5 separate regions of the Homo sapiens genome follow, and regions 1, 2, 3 and 4 are each linked to region 5. Evidence: promoter capture Hi-C in 16 types of primary human blood cells and fetal thymus (Javierre and others, 2016). All regions are on one chromosome and are shown on one strand. Each heading gives the region's core, a stretch centred on a gene start or on the middle of the fragment in contact. The rest is flanking DNA. Distances are from core to core; before and after follow the strand shown.

Evidence for each region. Contacts are between HindIII fragments. The CHiCAGO score rates a contact against its expected background, and 5 or more counts as called.
Region 1: a contact is called between a fragment that was not itself captured here and the fragment with the promoter of ZNF695 in region 5, in 1 of 17 cell types (monocytes). The highest score is 5.2, in monocytes.
Region 2: a contact is called between a fragment that was not itself captured here and the fragment with the promoter of ZNF695 in region 5, in 1 of 17 cell types (erythroblasts). The highest score is 6.0, in erythroblasts.
Region 3: a fragment that was not itself captured here is called in contact with the fragment with the promoter of ZNF695 in region 5 in 3 of 17 cell types (erythroblasts, megakaryocytes and M1 macrophages); the score reaches 9.3 in erythroblasts.
Region 4: a fragment that was not itself captured here is called in contact with the fragment with the promoter of ZNF695 in region 5 in 1 of 17 cell types (erythroblasts); the score reaches 6.2 in erythroblasts.

What each region holds. Positions count from the first base shown.
Region 1 is chr1:247,220,697-247,223,396 of GRCh38, forward strand. No RefSeq gene overlaps it. Among named protein-coding and RNA genes, the nearest start is that of MIR3916, 20 kb to the left of the region's middle. The HindIII fragment of the contact is 1,062 bases long and covers 854-1,915 here.
Region 2 is chr1:247,142,576-247,145,275 of GRCh38, forward strand. It overlaps a transcript of ZNF124 not described here. Among named protein-coding and RNA genes, the nearest start is that of ZNF124, 28 kb to the right of the region's middle. The HindIII fragment of the contact is 931 bases long and covers 979-1,909 here.
Region 3 is chr1:247,189,424-247,192,123 of GRCh38, forward strand. It overlaps the pseudogene ZNF731P. Among named protein-coding and RNA genes, the nearest start is that of MIR3916, 11 kb to the right of the region's middle. The HindIII fragment of the contact is 794 bases long and covers 1,023-1,816 here.
Region 4 is chr1:247,161,804-247,164,712 of GRCh38, forward strand. The region is part of intron 1 of ZNF124 (zinc finger protein 124); the gene reads right to left. Among named protein-coding and RNA genes, the nearest start is that of ZNF124, 8.8 kb to the right of the region's middle. The HindIII fragment of the contact is 2,038 bases long and covers 232-2,269 here.
Region 5 is chr1:247,006,749-247,009,483 of GRCh38, forward strand. It overlaps ZNF695 (zinc finger protein 695), which reads right to left and starts at 1,309. Exons shown (of 4, transcript NM_020394.5): 1 at 1,158-1,309. The coding sequence starts at 1,160. All of the region lies in intron 1 of ZNF670-ZNF695 (ZNF670-ZNF695 readthrough (NMD candidate)), which reads right to left. RefSeq lists silencers at 902-1,001, 1,502-1,561. The HindIII fragment of the contact is 12,382 bases long and covers 1-2,735 here.

The DNA.
Region 1 (2,700 bases), core at 135-2,634, 210 kb after region 5:
TGGGAAGTGAGGAGCCCCTCTGCCCGGCCACCACCCGGTCTGGGAGGTGTACCCAACAGTTCATTGAGAACGGGCCATGATGACAATGGCGGTTTTGTGGAATAGAAAAGGGGGAAAGGTGGGGAAAAGATTGAGAAATCGGATGGTTGCCGTGTCTGTGTAGAAAGAGGTAGACATGGGAGACTTTTCATTTTGTTCTGTACTAAGAAAAATTCTTCTGCCTTGGGATCCTGTTGATCTGTGACCTTACCCCCAACCCTGTGCTCTCTGAAACATGTGCTGTGTCCACTCAGGGTTGAATGGATTAAGGGCGGTGCAAGATGTGCTTTGTTAAACAGATGCTTGAAGGCAGCAGGCTCGTTAAGAGTCATCACCACTCCCTAATCTCAAGTACCCAGGGACACAAACACTGCGGAAGGCCGCAGGGTCCTCTGCCTAGGAAAACCAGAGACCTTTGTTCACTTGTTTATCTGCTGACCTTCCTTCCACTATTGTCCTATGACCCTGCCAAATCCCCCTCTGCGAGAAACACCCAAGAATGATCAATAAAAAAAAAAAAAATTTCCAAATGTCAATCCCAATGGGACAATAATGATCCCAGGGACTGGGCCCAAATGCAGCACCTCAGGGAAATAATAATTCGAGGGATCAAAGAATCCACTCCTAGGACATAAAATGTCTCAAAGGCATTTGAGATTCAACAAGAAAAAGAGAAAACTCCCTCTGCACTCCCGCAGCGGCTCAGAGATGAGAAAATACTCCGGGCTAGATCCGGATTATCCAGCAGGGCAAGGCCTTTTGAAGATTAACTTTGTAACTAAGAGCTGGCCTGACATTACAAAAAAATTACAAAAGCTTGATGGATGGAATGAGAAACCGATTGAGGAATTGCTGAGGGAAGCTCAGAGGGTTTTTGTAAGGAGAGAGGAAGAGAAGCAGAAACAGAAAGCGAAAAGCATGGTTTCCACTGTGGAAGAGGTAGTCAGAAAACGATTAGATCAAGATCCCCCTCAGAGGAGACAAAGCTATAATAGACTTCAACACCAAGAAAGAAGGGAAATGCAGGGAAAACCTCCTAAGACTATGAGTGGATGTTGCAAGTGTGGAAAGCCAGAGCATTTTAAGAGAGAATGTCCATTGTTGGACAGCTGATCCTGAGGTTAAATTGGTCAACAACTGAAATGGATAAAGACAAGCTATCTTAATTTTTGTTGTGTTTTTGTTTGTTTTTGTTTGTTCGTTTGTTTTTTGAGACAGAGTCTCACTCTGTTACCCAGGCTGGAGTGCAGTGGCATGATCTCGGCTCACTGCAACCTTCGTCTCCCAAGTTCAAGTGATTCTTCTGCCTCAGCCTCCTGAGTAGCTGGGATTGCCAGTGTGTGCCCAGCTATATATATGCCCAGCTAATATATATATTTTGTTTTTTTGTTTGTTTGTTTGTTTTTATTTGCAGAGACGGGGTTTCACCATGTTGGCCAGGCTGGTCTTGAACTCTTGACCTCAAGGAATCCGTCCACCTCAGCCTCCCCAAGTGCTGGGATTACAGGTGTGAGCCACCTCCTAGATACCTTTAAATAGATGAAGATGAGCTACTTTTTACTGAAGAAAGATTCTTCAGTGGAGGCGAACCTAGCGGCTCACTCCTGTTGGCAGTGGGTTACCAGTTGTGTGGAATTTGAAACTAATTTATACGTTCGTGAAATTCTTAAATTGTGTGGTCAACCAGACATCCCAGGGCTTCAGACAGGTCGAAGCCATCCTCCAAAAGGTGAATGATAGCATGTGTTCACCAGAAGCACTTAATGAGACATGGTACAATTTTACATCTCCTCTTTGACTCTGTTGGACAGTTGTACATGGTGCTAAACAATACTGAATATTGTATTTTTCTTCCCCTGATTTTGCTACTACAGAAAGCTTAATTTAAAAGGTGGCTGATATCCTGTTTCTTAAGACACTGATAATAAATACACTAAAAAGGGAATATGGATGTGTTTATAGGAAAAGCTAATAGTTTGCTTGTGGGCATTCTAAATGGTGGATGACAAGCTTAACTTTAAACGTTTTTTTTTTAATATTTATGTTTTTTTTCTAGTGAGTGGGTCTCCAGGCTTCTATGACTTGTGTTACCAGGCTAAAGATAAAGATGGAATCCTCGTTAAATCAGACCATGCCAGTCTCAAAATTGAGAGACTGATCACAAGGGAGAAATTGTTAAATGAAATAAGTGGAAGACCATTGTCCCAATGCTGTCTTTCTACTTTCAGTTCCTGTGTAATAAACTACAACCTAACTTAGTATGCAAATAAACGAAAACCCAATTTAGGAGTGTATTTTTTGGTATAGATAGCTGGGTCTCAGCCAGTCACAAGCACTGAGCTTCAGCCAATTCCAGGCAGCCAGCAGATCACAGCATGTCGAAATGAGGCACACACCTTACTGTAATCAAGTGGAGGAAAGAATCTCAGAACTTGACTATCTTTCTGAAATAAGACAGGCAGACAAGAATAGAGAAAAAATGTAAAGGGACAAACAAAACCTCCAAGAAAGATGGGATTATGTAAAAGACCAAATCTGTGACTGAATGGGGTGCCCGAAAGAGATGGGGAGAACAAAACCAAGTTGGGAAACATACTTCAGGATATCATCCAGGAGAACTTTCCCGACCTAGCAGGACTGGCCACCATTCAAATTCAGGAA
Region 2 (2,700 bases), core at 194-2,693, 140 kb after region 5:
CCTCAGAAGATTGATATTCACCAACCTTTAATAGCATTCTCTCTGGAGAAATGCTTCTATTTTTTCAGTTTGATGAAATCACCATGCCATTGTTTTTACTTTTCATTTTCTTACACAGAATCTAAGACAAGGTATATTAAATGCTTAATGATCCTATTCTTCACCTGGCTCATATCATTTACCTAATTTTAAACTTTCTTCTACTCTAAAAATTTCAATTCATCTTATGTATTGTAGAAGATTTTAAATCTAATACAGGTATTGTCTTTTTTTTTTTTTACATATATTCTATTGGCATTTTACACTGGGATCATGGAATATTTCATTATGTAAATTATTTAATTTTTATGTAGAAAAAAGAAAATTATTTTGGTGTTTGTTTTGTTCTTTGCTCTATAATTTCCATTACATACTGATTAGATAATTTTTTGAGTATTTTAAATTTTAGGTAATTATGCATTTTATCCATAAAGAATCTGCATGTGAGAGAGAGAGCTATTTTCTCCTCACTTCTATTTCATCTCCATCCTGACCTCCCCAGAATCCTCAGCTCTTTGTGTAGTTGGATAGCAGTTTATAATTCCAGTAAATGGGCCTAATTCAATAATATACCACAAATCAGTTTGAAACCAGGACATGCCTTCAAGACACACCCAAATGCCTATATATATAATAATACTAAGTTACAATTGATGTAAAAAATAAAATTACAAAAGGATTGTTAAAGTAAATTCAAAGGGACATCAGGCCTAAAAAATCCCTGAGGAAATGTGTGATCAGAGGCTTTCCCAGGCACACACTGCTCTACAGCCCTACCACACAGGCTTAACCGAGAATTTGACCCCGGAAGGTGACGGATGAACATGTGTCCTGGTATTCTGATCTACAGAAATCCTGCCCTCTCTTAATGATCCATCCAGAGCTCTAGGATCGTTTCTAGATTTATTTACTACACACAGACTGGAAGTTTTTGACAGAAGCTTTGAACTGGGAACCCTACCCTGTTCCACCAGCTTCTCTAGAAGTACAATGTTCTAATTACTCCTGAGAGACTCCATCTGAGGGTAACTCTCTGAGCCAACAAGATTTAAAGTGAGAAGAGGAAAAAGGCAAGAGTCGGGCTATGTCTAGGATTCCCTTACCTGACTTATGTCTTTGGTTTACCCAAGTATTGATAAGATTCGTCTCTAGATGGTAGAAACTAGATGGAGGAGCACTAGCTCACAGAAGTAGACAATGGGATCAGTGCTCCATAGATCCAGCTTAAGCTCAGCCATGAGATACTAAGTCTCTCAGAAAAAAAAGTAACAGTTCTCCATCATCTACCCCCGTAGCCTCAGACAGCTAGGCAGTAAGCATGCATGCTCAATAAAACTCCACATCCACATCACAGAGAGAGATAGAACAATCCCAAAGGACCGTGAAGGGTGATGTGGAGAGACCAAAAGGATATGAACCCACAGCATCTGCCCTACCATCTGCTCCAATACTAACCCTGTCCTTTCCCAACATGATTTCCAGATTTTTCTTTGGCCCTCACTAAGGGTGATTCAGAAAGACAAAAAGTTATTAATGCCCTTCCATTCTCCATATCTCCTGAGGTCTCAGTTGTTTACTCTGCGGGTTTCGGGTAGCTATCCCTCCCCAACTACATCCACAAAATTAGTGTATCTCATTCAGCACCAAGAATTTCACCTTTATTCTGGTCACTCCCTACCTTCTCCTAGACATTTTATCTAGAAAAGCCAGATGAAATAGCGACAAAAATGTTTACATAAAACTCAACCACAACTAAGTTGGAGTATCATAATCCCACTTTGGGCTAGGTTGCCACTCAGCCTACTACAAACTAGGCTTGGGGCAGTTAGGGGAAAGCTAGGGTTTAGAGCTGATGTGAAAGTCAGCTAAAAGCTTGCTACCGAGCCCCTGTCAAGCTGAATCCTAACCCAAGGAGGACTGAGGGCTGCGTAGCTTTATATTCCACTTTTGAGGTGGGTGTCAGCTAAAAGCTTGCTACAGAGCTCCTGTCAAGCTGAATCCTAACCCAAGGAGGACTGAGGGCTGTGTGGCTTTATATTCCACTTTTGAGGTGGGTCAATTTGAACTCTCTGAAAGCCCGCAAAAGACTAGCTCTAAACCCTAGTCTAGTACAAACTAAGCTAGGGTTGCATTTAGCGGAAAGGAAGATTATCTTTTCTTTCTTTCTTTTTTTTTTTTTGAGACAGAGTCTCGCTCTGTCTCCCAGGCTGGAGTGCAGTGGCCCGATCTCAGCTCAATGCAACCTCCGCCTCCCAGGTTCAAGCAATTCTCCTGCCTCAGCCTCCTGAGTAGCTGGGACTACAGGCGTTCGCCACCATGCCTGGCTAATTTTTGTATTTTTAGTAGAACCGGGGTTTCACCATATTGGCCAGGCCGGTCTCGAACTCCTGACCTTGTGATCCACCCGCCTCGGCCTCCCAAAGTGCTGGGATTACAGGCGTGGGCCACTGCGCCTGGCCAGTGAGATGCATCTTTTCAGGTAGTCAGTGTGGAATCTCAAATTTGGGAAACAGATCTCTACAGCTCTCAACCATTTCATTCTTATCCTGGAGGCAGTCAAAAAGAGATTATTCCTTTTTAGAAAGAATTACATTCAGTCAACAAATTGTAACATATGGATCAGGAGAAGGAAAAGATGGTAAAATCAGCCAATTTTTAGTA
Region 3 (2,700 bases), core at 170-2,669, 180 kb after region 5:
CAAAATAACTGCACATACTATACACTGAAAATTATTTAAAATGCTGAAAGAAATCAAAGAGCTGAATAAACTGAGATATACTCAATATTCAAATATAGCAATACTGAATATGAAGATCAAAATACCCAACAAATTTATCTACAGATTCAATGCAAATTCCAATGTAGCTTTTCTTTAATATAAATTGACAAGCTCTTCCTAAAATCCATATAAACATATAAAGAAAATCAAACACACAAGAATTCTGAAAAATAACAAAATTCAGTAACTTACACTCCTGATATAAATTCTTACTACAATGTTACAGTAATTAAACAATATAGTACTGGCATAAGGACAGATTTATGTAGACCAAAAAAAAAAAAAAAAAACCACAGAATTAAAGTTCCATTAATGAACAAATTAATCTGTGGTAAAATTATTTTTTTCTGTGAAAGGTGTTGTGACAGTCATTATATTTATAATTCTTTAGTTCAATATGAACTCTGGTCCTGAGTAAGACATGAGCAGGTATTAAAGGCTTTGCCACATTTTTTACATTTGTAGGATTTTTCTCAGGTATGAATTTTCTCAGGTACATTGAGGTCTGAGCAGTGGTTAAAGGTTTTGCCACATTCTTCAGATTTGTAGCATTTCTCTCTTGTATGAATTCTCTTATGGTTTGAAAGGCTTGAACAAGATATAAAGACTTTACCACATTCTTCACATTTATAGGGCTTCTCTCCAGTATGAATTCTTTTATGTTCAGTAAGGTGTGAGCACCGGTTAAAAGCTTTGCCACATTCTTCACATTTGTAGGGTTTCTCTCCAGTATGAATTCTCTTATGTTTAGTGAGGTTTGAACACTGGTTAAAAGCTTTGCCACATTCATCACATTTGTAGGGTTTCTCTCCAGTATGAATTCTTTTATGTAGAGTTAGGTATGAGAACCAGTTAAAGGCTTTGCCACATTCTTCACATTTATGGGGTTTCTGTCCAGTGTGAATTTTCTTATGTTTGGCATGGTTTGAACTGTGGTTAAAAGCTTTGCCACATTCTTCACATTTATAGAGTTTCTTTCCAGTATGAATTATAATGTGATTAGAAAGGCTTGTGAAGGATTTAAAGACTTTTCCACATTCTTTACATTTGTAATGTTTCTCTTCATTATGAATTGTCTCATGTTCAAGAAAGCATGAGCAGTGCCTAAAGGCTTTCCCACATTGTTTACACTTGTAGGATTTCTCTGCAGTGTGGATTCTCTGAAGTGGAGTTAGAACTGAGGATATGTAAAAGGAATTGTCACATTCTTTACAGTTGGAAGATATCTCTCCAGTATGTCTTATCTTATGTCTATTTAGATTTGACGATTTACTAAAGACTTTCACACATTTATTAAATTGAAAGATTTTGGTATGTGTAGTTGATAAAGATTGGTTAAGTCCATTACAACATTCTTTCTGCACCTTAGATTCACCCACACTTTCCCAATCTTTCTTTAATTGTAAATTCTCAATGCCATAGCTTCCATATCTTCTCAGTATCACTTTTTGAAATGAATCTTTTATACCATGCTCTGGCAAGAGGTCTTGGGTGAAATGAGAAGAAACAGCTGAAAAAAATTAAAATAACATATTATCCAACTTACTGGACTTAGATGAATATAATTTAAAAAGCTAATATATGAAATTATACCAAACACATTAGCGAGATAGCATAATAAAATACTACAGGCCCTGATTTTTTGATGAACATAATATAACAAAAATATACTGAACAAAATGCCTTTGTGAGAACTCTAGAAACCATATTAAAAGCCATAGACAAGGGGAAGGAAAGCTTGTTACATTTACCCACCACAACTCTTTCTTCTCCTAAACACAGCATAATGACTTCAGGAATAAACTCCCAACTCCTAGCTTCTCCTTCAATAGAGACAGTAGTGGCACATATGCCCATACTTTTGATGGAATTTCCAAAGACTAGTTTCTGTCTCCCATGACACAAAGTGCTGAAAGGAATAGTGGTAGAATAGAACCAACCTTTAATTCAAAGGTTGGTTCTGCTGAGACCAAAGGTAAATAATTGTTATAGCAGCAGAGAGGCTGCAGTACTACAGACAGACAACAGATTTAGCAAATAATTGATTAGAGAAGAAGAAAGAAAGAAGAAACAAGGGTAAACCTCTTTAACTGGAAATTAAACACAAAATTCCAGAGAACATACATCCTGAGAATAGGTTTGAGAGGCTCATGGAAACCCTAGCCCAAGTCACTTGGTATCAGATTATCCAGGACAAAGCCATTTTATAAAGATTTTGACAGATGGCTTTTAGTGCCCAAATCTCAACCAAAGATTGCAACATATACATTAGGGTAACATGGCTCAATCAAAAAAAAAATAAATAAATAAATAAATAAATAAATAAATAAATAAATAAATATCCAGAAATCAACCCTAAAGAAATGGAGATGTATAAGTTACCTGAAAAATCTGAGATAACCATTTGAATAATGCCCAATGAGTAAAACAGGAAAACAGACATGAAATTAAGAAAATGAGAAACCCTGACAAATTCTCAAATGTAAAAAAAAAAAATTAAGAAGCTCAACACATTTCAAATAGGATAAACACAAACAGACACATAACAAGATACATTATAAGCAGTTTCAAAAAATTACAGATGAGAAGAGAATCTCAAAAACAGAAAGGGAAAAGCAA
Region 4 (2,909 bases), core at 1-2,500, 150 kb after region 5:
AATTAGAGAATCTCAAGTGGTGATTACCACACCAAATAAATACGCAGAAATGAAGGCCAAGGCAGTGGATATACTCCATTGCTATTTCCAGTAATTTGAACTTTACCACAATCTACAGTCCAGTAATTTTTCTCTAATGTCCAGAAAATTTATTGTGCATTATCAGAGTTTATATTCAGCATTCTTAAGGAAAAGAAATTCCAACCATGAATTTCCCATCCAGCCAAAAGAAGCTTCATAATCATTTTCAGACAAGCAACTACTAAGAGAATTTGTTCCCACTAGATCTGCCTTATAAGAGTTCCTAAAGGTAGTGCTAAATATGGAAAGATCATTAACAGCCACCACAAAAACACACGTAAGTACATAGACCAGTGACACTATAAAGCAAGCATACAAACAAGTCTGCATAATAACTAGCTAACGACACAATAACAAGATCAAATCTACACATATGAATAGTAACCTTGAATGTAAATGGGCTAAATGCCCCAATTAAAAGGCAAAATGACAAGCTGGATAGAGAAACAAAACCAATCGTATGCTGTCTTCAAGAGACCCATCTCACATGCAATGACGCCCACACATTCAAAGTAAAGAGATAGAGAAAAATCTACAACACAAATGGAAAACAGAAAAAAGTAAATCTAGGAGCAATAGGCCATACCATATAGCCTAGGTGTGTGGTATATTATGCCATCTAGGTTTGCGTAAGTACACGCTATTATGTTCTCACTATAAAACTGCCTAACAACACATTAAGCAATGTATGACTGTATATCTTTACTTATATATAAAATATATTAACCCTTGGCAAAAAAAAAAAAAAAAGCAGGGATTACTAGTCAAATTTCAGATAAAACAGACTTTAAACCAAAAACAAAAAAAGACACGGGTATTACATATTGGTAAAAGGTTCAATCCAACAAGCAGACCTAACTATCCTAAATACGTATGCACCCAACACAAGAGCACTCAGATTCATACGGCAAATTCTTACACACCTACAAAGAGACTTAACCACAGAGTTAACAGTGGGAGGCTTCAATGCCCCACTGATGGTATTAGATCATAAAGGCAGAAAACTAACAAAGATATTTGAGATCTGAACTCAACACTTCACCAAATGGACCTAATGGACACCTACAGAACTCTTCACCAAAAAACAACAGAATATACATTCTTCTCAGCTGCACATGGCACATACTCTAAAATCAACCACACATTCAGCCATAAAACAATCCTCAACAAATCAAAAGAAAAAAATGAAATTAAGGTAGAAACCAAGAAATTATTTGAAACTAATAAGAACAAACATACAAGAATCTCTGGAACACAGCTAAGGCAGTGTTAAGAGGAAATTTTATAGCACTAAATGCCCACATCAAAAACTTTGAAAAGATCTCAAATTAGCAACCTAACATTACACTTAGAGGAACTAAAGAAACAAGAGCAGACCAACCCCAAAGCTAGCAGAAGACAAAAAAACCAAAATCAGAGATAAATTGAAGAGAGAGAGAAAAAAAAGCAAAAGATCAACAACTTCAGGAGTCAATTTTTTGAAATAAGATAGATTGCTAGCTAGACTAATAAAGAAAAGGAGAGAAGATCCATATAAACACAATCAGAAGTGACAAAAAGGGTATTACCACCAGACTCACAGAAACTAAAAAAAAAAAAAATCCCTCAGAGGCTATTATTACAAACATCTCTATGCATACAGGCTAGAAAACCTAGAAAAACGAATACATTCCTGGAAACAAAAAACCTCCCAAGATTGAACCAGGAAGAAATGGAATCCCTGAACAGAAAAATGAGCTCTGAAATTTAATCAGTAATAATAAACCTATCAAACAGAAAAGCCAGGACCAGATGGTTTCACAGCTAAATTCTACCAGATGTATTAAGAAGAGCTGGTACCATTCCTTCTGAAACTATTCTAAGAAACTAAAGAGGAGAAACTCCTTAACTCATTCTATGACAGCCAGCGTCATCCTGGCAGGCATACAACACATGGCAGGCATACAACAATGAAAAAGAAAACTTCAGGCCAATATCCTTGATGAACATAGATGAAAAATCCACAGATGTAAAATACTAGCAAACCAAATCCAGCACACACCAAAAACCTATTCCACCACCATGATTAAGTAGGCATTATCCCTTGGATGTAACATTTCAATATATACAAGTCAATAAATGTGATTCACAACATAAACAAAACTAAAAACAAAAAAACAACATGATCATCTCAATAGATGCAAAAAAAAGCTTTAAATAAATTTCAACATCCCTTCATGTTAAAAACCCTCAACAAACTAGGCATCGGAGAAACATACTTCAAAATAATAAGAGCTATCTATGAAAAACCCACAGCCAACATCATAGTGAATAGGCAACAGCTGGAAACATTCCTCTTGAGAACTGGAACAAGGCAAGGATGCCCTCTTTTACCACTCCTATTAACATACTACTGAAATAAAATGCATCCAAATAGGAAGACAGGAAATCAAACTTCTCTGTTTGCAAATGATATGATCCTATACCCCCCAAAACCCCACAGTCTCTGTTGAAAAGCTCCTGATAAACAACTTTAGCACAGTTTCAGGACAGAAAATAAATGTACAAAAATTAGGAGCATTTCTATACACGAATAATATCCATGCAGAGAGCCAAATCAGGAAGGCAATCCCATTCACAATAGCCACAAAAAGAATAAAATATCTAGGAATATAGCTAACCAGGAGATGAAAGATCTCTACAATGAGTTACAAGATGCTGCTGGGAAAAAAAAAACAAAACAAAACAAACAGAGATGATACAAATGAATGGAAAAACATTCCATGCTCATTGATAGGAAGAATTAATATTGCTAAAATGGTCCAACTACCCAAAGCAATTTAGATTCA
Region 5 (2,735 bases), core at 59-2,558:
GGGGGAACAGAGTCCTGGATTTGAGGTCCTGCTTGCCATACATTTGAAAAATGCTGGGAAAACCAGTTCCCCTGTGGAGTGTTAGAATACTTAAATGGCAGACAATTAGACTGAGTGGCTTTGATGTCCTGGGATTCTATCTAAGGAATCCTAGCTAACTTAGATGAATTTCTTGTAAATTGCAAACTTGGAGAAAAACAAAACGTAGGCTTAACCAACCACTAAATGCTAATAAATCTCTTATTACATAATCAGGAAATTTCATCCTGGACAGTCCAAATAAGGTGACTGCATAATGGCAACCGATCAATTATTAAACGTGGTTGCTTCCTCGTGCACCTTATGAAGACCTTCCCTTCAAGTTTAGCCCCAAACCAGGGCTAGGGGCTTCCAGATTCATAAATCACTGTTTGCTGGAATAAACTCCTTAACATTTCAAAGGTGCTTCAGTTTATTTTTTTAAGAGGAGAAAGGAGACCGGGCGCGGTGGCTCACGCCTGTAATCCCAGCACTTTGGGAGGCCGAGGCGGGCGGATCACGAGGTCAAGAGATCGACACCAACATGGTGAAATCTCCGTTTCTAATAAAAATACAAAAATTAGCTGGGCGTGGTGGTGGGCGCCTGTAATTCCAGCTACTCGGGAGGCTGAGGCAGGAGAATCGCTTGAACCTGGGAGGCAGAGGTTGCGGTGAGCCGAGATCGAGCCACCGAACTCCAGCCTGGCGACAGGGCGAGACTCCGTCTCAAAAAAAAAAAAAAAAAAAAAGAGGAGAAAGGAACCCACAGACCACAGCTCCTCCCACCCAGGAACCTTTCACGGGAGTCGGGACTCTCCCGACAACCCCTCCGTCATCACAGCACAATCCAGGGAAGACGCGGCGCTGCGGGCGCGGGGCTGCCCCGGGAGGGCTCTGGGCCGTGCCGAAGTCACCAGGCAGAGACCGGACAGTCACCCAGCGGCCGGGATCCCGCTGCCGGCCCGGCCCCCACCTGCGCGGGACGGGACTGAGGGCCGAGCTGCGCCAGCGGGACTCGGCCGCACACTCCGGAGCCGACCGCCGGGAGGCCCGGGGCCGCCAGCGCTGGTTCCAGCCAATTCCAACCGATTCCAACCACCCCCTCTCCCTTCTCGGGACACCCTGCTCCGCACACTCACCATTTCCCAGCTTTTGGGGGTCCCAGCGTCCTCCCTATAAATCTCGCAATACCTGCAGGCCACAGGGCGATGGAGCCTGCGGCAGTCACCCGGGACTCTCCGAGAGGCAGCAGACGGGAACCCAGCACCCCGCCGGCCGCAAGGAGACAAAGGCCCCGCCAGATCCCCAAGGCCGCCCCTTCCTCTCTGGCTGCACGCCTGATTGGACAGTTCTCACGCTAGCGCCGCTGACTGGATGGGGCTCCAGGCCCCACCCCCTCAGGTCTTGAGTGACAGGAGGTGCGATCAGACACTGGGCCGAATGAAACAAGAGTGACAGGTTTTTGGGTGCAGCCCTTTTGAAGCGACATTCCTCACGGCACTTCGACCTGGACCCACCTGCCTGGGGGATAATGGCATTTAACCTTGTATATAAGATTATATCCATTCATAAGTTTTACACACACACACACACACACACACACACACACATATATATTTCACAAATAGAAACAATGAATGATAATTATTTTAAAGTTTCCGATTTCATAACCTTCCGGGCCTCTGGTCTTTTGACCAGGCAGCCTGAGCTGTGGAAAGTGAGGCAATCCTCTCAGGCAGCAATATGCAATATAAATAAAAGGTGAGCCACGCGTGTCATTTAAAATTTTCTAGGATCTGGCGGGTCGTGGTGGCTTACGCCTGTGATCCCAGCACTTGGGGAGGCTGAGGAGGGAGGATCACATGAGGCCAGGAGTTTGAGACCAGCCTGGCCAGTATGGCGAAACCCCGTCTCTGCTAAAAGTATTTTTAAAAATTAGCCAGGAGTGGTGGTGGTCGCCTGTAATCCCAGCTACTCAGGAGACTGAGGCAGGAGACTCGCGTGAGCCTGGGAAGCGGAGGTTACAGTGAGCCGAGATCATGCCTTTGCACTCCAGCTTGGGTAATAAGAGGAAAACTCCATCTCAAAAACAAAAACAAAACAAAACAAAAAAATCGGCTGTGAAGACATTTCCTCCTGCAGAAATTTAGCCAAACAGCTGAGTATGTCTTGAAGTCATTCTTTGGTTCTTAACAGGGCAAAGCTATTTTCTAAGACCTAAACCCTGGACTGGCCATGGGGCAAACCCTCACAACACATATGGAATTCATGCACAGTTAATGCATCTCTTACCTTGAACCAGTGGTTGCTACTAATTTTGTTTCTGATTCAGCCCAGTTCTACAACTGCCCTGCTATGCACAGGGCACTGTACTAGCTGCCCTGGCCTTGGTGAACATCATTGTGGGGAGAGGACTTTGCTGGGAAAAAGTTGCATCCCCCCAGATTGAAACCATTCCACTTTCCAAATTGGAGTAAAACTGAAAAGACCTAGGGGAGCACCCAAGGTTACAACATGAATGAATAGCTCAGAATATTTAAAGTCATTTGATGGTATCATGGGTGAGTGTGTCTCACTTCAAACAAAATAAAACACTACTGTTATTCTGAGATTCTAAGTTAGGATTTATGTAAAAATATATAATAATTTTTTTGATACACAACACACATACAAAAAAATACAAAGCATTCATGTAAAGCTCTGTGAGTTATTACAAA